Linked DNA regions of Homo sapiens: region 2 is linked to region 1. Evidence: promoter capture Hi-C in 16 types of primary human blood cells and fetal thymus (Javierre and others, 2016). All regions are on one chromosome and are shown on one strand. Each heading gives the region's core, a stretch centred on a gene start or on the middle of the fragment in contact. The rest is flanking DNA. Distances are from core to core; before and after follow the strand shown.

What was found. The method cuts DNA at HindIII sites, captures the fragments that hold promoters and counts their contacts. A CHiCAGO score of 5 or more calls a contact.
Region 2: a contact is called between a fragment that was not itself captured here and the fragment with the promoter of ADGRB2 in region 1, in 1 of 17 cell types (endothelial precursors). The highest score is 6.3, in endothelial precursors.

Annotation. Positions count from the first base shown.
Region 1 is chr1:31,762,250-31,766,470 of GRCh38, reverse strand. ADGRB2 (adhesion G protein-coupled receptor B2) reads left to right here and starts at 2,131. Exons shown (of 33, transcript NM_001364857.2): 1 at 2,131-2,587. RefSeq lists a silencer at 3,449-3,718 and an enhancer at 3,660-4,221. The HindIII fragment of the contact is 4,434 bases long and covers 1,575-4,221 here.
Region 2 is chr1:31,647,807-31,651,728 of GRCh38, reverse strand. All of the region lies in intron 2 of PEF1-AS1 (PEF1 and COL16A1 antisense RNA 1), which reads right to left. Among named protein-coding and RNA genes, the nearest start is that of PEF1, 4.9 kb to the right of the region's middle. The HindIII fragment of the contact is 1,574 bases long and covers 1,191-2,764 here.

The sequences.
Region 1 (4,221 bases), core at 882-3,381:
CTCACTCTGTCTACCTATGCTTCCTTGGGCGTACATTTTTGTGGCTGATAGAAGGGATCAAGAAGTCAGAGGGCTAGCGAGGAACAGAGAGACAGACAAAAACGCTGCTGTCGATCTGGGGCCAGTCCCTCCCATCACCTCTCACCCAGCTGCCTCCTGGGGAAGGAGGAGGGGGGGCCTCAGGCATCCAGCTGCATCACATCTGCAAGAGACCTGCCTAGGTTTCTCTGATCTAATATGCTAATGATCATGAATATTCAAAAAGAGGGAAGCAAGCTCCCTGTAGGAGAGGAGGGGGCTGGAGCTTTGGACAGGGTCCTGGAGATTTCTAAGGGGCTTGCATCCTTGTGGGCAACCCATGTCTCCACCATTTTCCCCACTTTTGCCTACCTCCTTGAAGCCCCAGTCTAGCAACCCCATTCCCCCTCCCAGTGCCCATGTAAGGAGGGGGCCCGGATTTCCCACTGCCCTGGGGTGGCTTTCAACATACTTTGCAGCTGGCAAGGCCTGCCTGGCCTGGCTTTCACATAGTAGCTGAGCCTTGAAATCCAGAGATGTCTGACTGTGTTTGAGGGTGCCTAGCAAACCCTAGGAGCCTTGCTTGCCAGTGCTAGGCCCAAGGCACAGGCCTCCTTGGGCATCCGCAGCGAAAGGGAAGGTGCCGGCCCAGCCCTCCTCCCTGCCTCATAAGGCCTCATAAATTCTCTTAAGGTGACAGGTGAGATTCCTTCATCGTCCCTTATTACCTCCTTCCATTAAAGTTGATAATCTCTCACAATCACTCACAACAAATGTCACCGAGGCTGCTGGAGGTGGGAGGGACAGAAGGAGGGAAAAGAGGGCGGTTCTATGCCTCTTCCTGGTACTGCCCCTGGGAAGAGGTAGGCTTTTCTCTTCTTGCCCCATCTTGAGGGTGCCACAACTTAAGGGGCATCAGTGGAGAGGTGGGGTTGGTATTTGCTGAAATGAGGACTTCTTTGCACTGAAAATTTGGCCCTTCCTGGCTAGTGAACCTTCAAAAAGTATGGTCCTGAAACCATCCCACCCTCATCGCAAAGCTGAAACCATCCCACCCTTATTGCAAAGCTGCCCCCTGCTGGTTTCTCCTCTGACCAAAGCCATGGGATTAACCTACTTGTGTTGGCTGCAATGGTGCGTCCCTGGTCGGCCTACCTTACTGATGGCAACATGCCCAGGCCACAAACTGCCTGACCAGAGCCCTGAACCATGGGCATCTCCCTGTGTACCGCCTGAACCATGAGGGCTCAGGCCCCACCCAACTGTTTCTGGGCTTAGTGCCAAGATGGGGAAGGGGTGGGTCTGTACATCTCTGCTGCTTCTACACAAACAGATGCAACATGGGGGCGCCCCTGGCACAGGGAAAGGCACTTGTGGGAATAGACAGGGACTCAGGAAAACATGTAACACACTGCACACGTGTAGCATCCCCGTGCCTAAGGACGTGCAACATTGCAGTTTACAGTATGCATCAAACATGTCACATTGCAGTATACATATGTGGCTGCTACATGAGTTACCCACAGTCCTCAGCACACATGTGGCACCTGTAAGCTTGCATACATATAACATCCCTGCGCACAGGAACAAGCAACATGCATTCAGGACTTGGGCACATGTTAATACACCGTGCATGTGTGTGGCACTTGCATGCACCTACCCAGGCAACATGGCAGTGCACACTTAGGGCACCTGTATGCATATGCAAAGTTCAGCGCACATGACTGGCACCTGCATGCACAGGGACATGCAATATGCAATGCACATGGGAAGGTGAGCAAATGCTTCAGCCTGCAGGGCCCGGGACACCCTGGCGGCGCGACAAGCCTCCGGCATGGGTATAGCTGGAGGGGCGTCGCGGATCGCCTCATTCTGCGGTCCAAGAAGCAGCGGGCTGGGCGGGGGCTTACCCAGGGCTTCTCCCGCGCCGGCGCCTGGGGCCCAAGGCGGGGAGGTGGGGGGCACGATCGGCTCGGCTGGCGCTGTTCCCCCTTTAACAGGAGGCGGCGCGCGTCGCCCCCGCCCCTTCTCCCGCGGCTCCTCGCGCCCGGCCCGGCGCGCGCCCCCTCCCGGGCCCGGCCCGCGCAGGCGCCGCGTCCCGCCTCGGCCGTCACTCGGCCCGGCGCGCGCTGCGGGCAGCGGCCGGAGCGGCCGGAGGAACCGGGTTCGGCGGCAGCGGCGGCGGCGCTCAGAGACCGAAGAGGATGCGGCACCGGCTCTCAGAGCCCGGGGCTGCGGCCGCCGCCCGCAAATAGGAGGCGGCGCGCGGCGCGGGCGGTGCTCGGGGCGGGGGAGCGGGGGAGCGGGGGGCGGCGCGGCAAGGAGGCGGCGGCGGCGGCGGCGGCAGGAGCCCGCGCCCGGCCCGGCGCCGCCCGCCCGCCCGCCCCGCGCTGCTCCGCGGCGCCTTTTCTGCACCCGCCGCCCGGGAGAGCGGGAGCCTCGGCCCTCCGCGCGGCTGCAGCTACCTACCCTGCGCCCGGCCCGGTCCCCGACTTAGGGATGGCAAACTTGCGCCCCGTGGCCGCCCCCGCCAGCGCCGGCCCCCGCTCCTGCTGCTGACGGCGCCCAGGTGAGTGCTCGGCCCCAGACCCCGACCTGGCCTCGCACCGAGCCCTGCCGGCGCGGTCCCGAGTTTCCGCACCGGCCCGGACTCGGGGCGCTCTCCTAACCCGTCTCTGCTGAATTCTCCCCCAGCCCGAACTGAGTTCGTTCAGCGTTCGCCCACCCCCATCTTCTGGGGAACTCCCAAACCTAGGGCCGAGGCCCCCTTAATCGCTGGTGAATCTCTAATCTCGGCCCCCCCCCTCCCCCAGCCTGGACCGACCCTCTTACCCATCTATGCTAAAGTCTCCCCCTCCAGAATTCTGACACAGACCGTGCTTGCTGTCTCGAGTCTTTCCCTATCTCGGCCTGGATCCGGGCAGTGTGCCCCCCACCTTTATTAGAGCCCCCCCATTAACCTGCAGCTCAACTGTGTCTCCCCCTCTATTTCCCGTCACGGTCTGAATGCCGGACCCTGCTCCTCTCCTCCACTTCATCACTGCCCGGAGTCTTTCCTGTCCCCATCCATGTCTGCCCATAGTTTCTACCCTCCCCCGCGCCTGTACCCCGACCATGCTTCTTCTCTATTTCTGCCCCTAGCGCCCCCTCCCCCATATCTATCTGACCGGAGTCCCGCCTTCCCTCGCCAATCTTGCTGCAAGTCCCCTCCCCTCAGCTTGGAATTGGGGCCGTGTCCCCCGTGTCTGCTCCGCGCCCCCTCCCCTCCAGCTGAGATCCCGACTGGACCCGCATCCCTGACTCCCGTGTCCATCTTTGGCCGGAGTCTATCTGTCCATCCCCCATCCCTATCCTCCCACCCCTGGTCATAGAGCTGGGCACCAGACGCACCCTCCCGCAGCCCCAGGGCCGGCATGATCCGGAGGGGGTTGTAGGCTGTGAAGTTGGCGGCCACTCCCGCAGTCAGCTTGGTCCGAGGGCACAGCCGGGGGAAGTCCTCCGCGCCGCGGCCCGTGCAGAGCAGGCGACGGGTCTGTTGCCCGCCGGGGGGAGGGGCGCCCGGGCCGAGAGATGCCGCCTGCCTGCCCGCCTCGCCAGCTGCCGGCCGGGCTCCTGGGCGTCCTCTGGCGCCCCCTGCCCGAAGCCTGGGACCCGCCACCCCTTCTCCCGCGGGCAACCCCGGGTTTCCGCAGCCAGAGCATCAGCGGTGGCTGCAGGACTGACGCTGGGAAATCCCTGGGGAGAGGAGATTGGTGGGCCAGGCCAGGTGCCTCCTCGTGCTAGCCATGCCCAAACACTCCTGGTTGTCAGGCCATATGTTCTGGGGGTGGGATGGGTTGGGGTGGGGTGGAGGGCTCACCCCAGCAGCAAGTCAAGAGTCCTTTGAGCCTTCACGTACAGACCAGCAGGATTGGCCGCGGGCTCCAGGACGCCTGGTTGGGCTTGTTTGTGCTTGGTCAGGTGTTGCCAGAGAGCCTCTACCCCATGGCATTTCCCATGAGGTGAGGGCTGGGGGCAAAGGTGGGCTCTGCCTGGCTTGCGCATGGAGTCGGTTGTGGGGGAATCCACCTGACCCTGGGACAGAGCAAGCACCTGGGGAGTATCCTCTGCACTGCTACTGGGGTGAGGGGCAGTGTGGACTCTGCGCAGGATATGTCCTGGTGATGGTAGTGGGGAGGTTAGGGAGGGTCTTCTCTGGACCAA
Region 2 (3,922 bases), core at 728-3,227, 110 kb after region 1:
GTGCTTCCAGCAATGACTTTCTGGAGGGCAAATAACATCTCCTGTTTTTCTTTATTATTCTAATATACGTGGTACTTTTCCTGTACATCTTAGCCTAGGCCTTTAGAAACAGCCAGGTTGTATCAGTACAAAGAGTTCATGGGCAAGCCACGAGCAGATCTAAGCTCACGGTCCTCAAAGTCCACTGGGAGTTTGGTGATCTATCTGTTGTGTCCTTCTCCCTATGTAAAAAAGGCTAGGAAGGGGAAAAAAGACAGTGAATTGAATATTATAGAAACATTCTCTCTTGAGCTTCTTCCTTCTCTACTTTTTAGATCTCTTGTCCTGATGGGCTGGCTGCCCTGTGAGAAAGCAACAAGGCACTTCCAGGGGGATTTCCAAAGAAAGCTTTTTCACTGGCCCCAGCTATCTGGAAGGTTTATTCAAGTTGGATACACTTCAAAGGACTCACAGAGCAGGCTCAGAAATGTACCCAAAGTCTAGATGCTTATCCAAACTGCCTGAAGCCTTCAAACCGGCTGTCAAATCTCTGCAGAGCTGGTATTTCTAGCACATTTCTGAAAACTCCCTTCTCTAGTTGGGTCCCAAATACCAGGAGACCAGCCTATTGATGGCTTTTCAGAACCTTTGCCCTATTTTTTTTTTTCCTGCCAGGAGCAAAGGTGTGCTGGTGGCCAGAAGAATGAAATCAGACTCCTGAGCATGCCCGAGTGTCTCATGTGATGTTTTTAGATAAAGGAGGCGCTGATTCTTTTTTCATCCCTCCCCAGCTATTCTCAGTTAACCCTGGTTCTAACATAAAACATTAAAAAGCAAAGGCATCATTTTTGTACTGAAGTAGCAGCCAGGTTTTGGACAGTGGAAGAGGACAGATGTTAAAGCACTCCCATTGGAAGGCCAGCTTCCTCTTTCAGCCTAGTCTGCCGAGTACTAGCTGATGATAGGCCTTCTCATGAGGAGCATGTTGGCGCTGGCAGAAAGAAAGAGACGCAAGGACCAGCTGTGGAATTGAGCAGGTTGGCTTTGAAGGCCAGAGGGGAAAAACTGCTATGAGGAAACATCCAACTCATCCCCTTTAAGGGTCACCAGGGAATTGATCCTTATAGAGTAAATGATGCCTTCTTCACTTTTCTTCCTGAGTCAAATTCATGCTACTCTTAAGGGATTCTACGACAGGCTAGGTTTAAGCTTTCATGATTTGAATGCATGTCTCCCCGGAGTTTGAAATTGCTGTATTTTCTTGGACCATGAAGAACCAGATGGAAAGCTGAATTTTATAGTCTCTTCTGTTACTGTGGTCAGCAAGAAATCCATGGATCTTGCTCATCAGTTCAGGAGCTGGGTAAGCTGAAGAGAAAGCAAGGAGGGGCATGTGTCGTCCATTCCTCTTAGGCAGCTTTTGCACGTTCCAACCCCATTATCCTTCTGTCTTCATTTCTTAACCTACTCCAGGCTTTCCAGGCAGCACACAGATCATTCAGATTGGAAAAGTCTAACTTGATGAGTCCATTCCTCTTCCTACTTTGTCCCAGGGACTGTACTAGGCTCTGGGGATCCCAAGGCAAACTAGACAGATATGGTCCCTGCTCCCACAGCATCCACAGGGAGAGCAGACAGTTAAACAAGCACCTACAATAAAGTGGGATGATAGGGCAGTGCCAGGTACAGGGGAGTGCACAGCTGGGGAACCTAACCATGTCTAGACGAAGAGATGGATTCAGGCAGAGGGAACAGCACGTGCCAAGGCCCAGAAATGACTGGTTGCAGCAGGCTGAGTGACGGGAGACAGGACAGTGTGATTGGATTTTGGAGCATGAGCAGGGAAGACAGTTGGAAGCCACTGGTGGGTTTCTCACAAAGGTGTGTCAAGTCAGGTTTGCCGAGTGGGGAGTTCGCTGATGGCAGTGTGAAGGATGGGACTGGAGGGTCCTTAATTTGAGAAACCCTCTGCTCAATAAGATGGAGAAAAGGCTGCTGTGTATTTATTCTGCAGAGAAAAATCTAAACTTTGATGCTTCTGGAATTTAAATCTTCATTTTTTGTCATAATATTTTCCTCTGTCACTCAAATTCAACAGAATCTAATTAGACTCTTTCTTCATCTGGGGTCTGTTAACCCCTTTACAAGACTAGTTTTTTTTTTTTTTGGAGGTGGGGGGACAGAGTCTCACTCTGTCACTCAGGCTGGAGTGCAGTGGTGCGATCTTGGCTCACTCAACCTCCACCTCCAGGGTTCGAGTGATTCTCCTGCCTCAGCCTCCGGAGTAGCTGGGACTACAGGCACAAGCCACCATGCCCAGCTAATTTTTGTATTTTTAGTAGAGACAGAGTTTCACCATGTTGGTTAGGCTGGTCTTGAACTCCTGACCTCAGGTGATCTGCCTGCCTCGGCCTCCCAAAGTGCTGGGATTATAGATGTGAGCCACCGTGCCCGGCCATGGATATTTTTTTTTTTTTTTTTTTGGTGCTGGAGATCCCAAAGGACTAGATCTTTTTTGTGGCTGTCCTGAACAGTTTATGGGAATAGACGATGTCAACGTACTCTACTTATGATCCCATAATGGAAGGGGAGTGTGGCCAAATTGCCACGTCTGCTGTTCTCATTCCTCTGTTGCTTCTGTGGAAAGTTGCAAATCATCCTCTGATCCACAGCATCCAACTGGAATTTAAATTTCAGAACTGGATCTAGTTGGAATCAAAGAGAATTAATTCCATAATAATTAGGTGGGTGTTGGTATTCCTTCTCAGTAAGCCTTACAGAAGCTTGGTGCGAGCCAAGTGGCTCCTGGGAGGCTGTGTCTCTAGGGGAGGCAATATTTTCCAGTGGATGGGCTTTTCATTACCAAGCTCTGCCTCACCCCTAATGGGTCAACCGCAGGGCTTCCACGAACTCAGGAAAGTGCTCTGTGTTCTAAAAAAAGTCTGGAATCCATGCTTTCCCCTTGGGCTACAAGTGAAACAATAACAGGAACTTCTCCACCCACCTCTGTCTGCCTCAGGTAGATGAGGTTTTGGAAGTGAGTTGATTGTTTTTCAGTCTTAGGAAGATCCTGATCTCTCTTTTATCCAGCCCCCTCCAAAACAAACATACCTGGGCCTGTGTGGGTCCTCAGAGGCACAGCCCTGGCTGTTGGCTTTGGCACGTTCCTGACTCCCTAAGAGAAGATGTGGATGCTCCATCCACGAAATAGCACAGACCTCCCACAGATAGTTCTCCTAAGCCCTTTGCTGGGCATAGGGGAATGGGGGCAAATAATTCTCATAGGAGTTGGATTCTCATCACCTAGAACAGAGCCTGGCAAGAGGTGGGAACCCAATGGGATCATATGTTTGTGGAATAAATGAGTGTGTGTCACATGACTCCAGTTTGCAGGCCAGCTTGTCACTGTTCTCTCTCCAGGCAAATACCCACTTGACCTTCAACCTTCTTCCCTTCTGAAGTTTTGCAGCTCAATTCCACCAATATTTTTTGAACTGGGGGGTTAGGAAGGTAAAGAAGACACAATCTACTAACTATTAAATACTGAGTAGTTAAAAAAAATGCAGACCTGGGATCAAGTCCTACTTCTCCATTTATCTTTTTTTTTTTTTTTTTTTTTCCCCAGACAGAGTCTCTCTGTTGCCCAGGCTGGAGTGCAGTGGTGCAAACACAGCTCATTGCAGCCTTGACCTCCTGGGCTCAAGCAATCCTCCCACCTTGGCCTCTGGAGTGGCTGGGACTCCAGACACATGCCACCATGCCTGGCTAATTTTTTAAAACTATTTTTTGTAGCGATAGGGTCTCACTATGTTGTCCAGGCTGGTTTCGAACTCCTAGGCTTAAGCGGTCCTCCTCCCTGCCTCCCAAAGTGTTGGGATTATAGGCGCGAGTCACTGCGCCTGGGCTCCATTTATCTTTTTGATAACAGGAAGGTCACTTAACC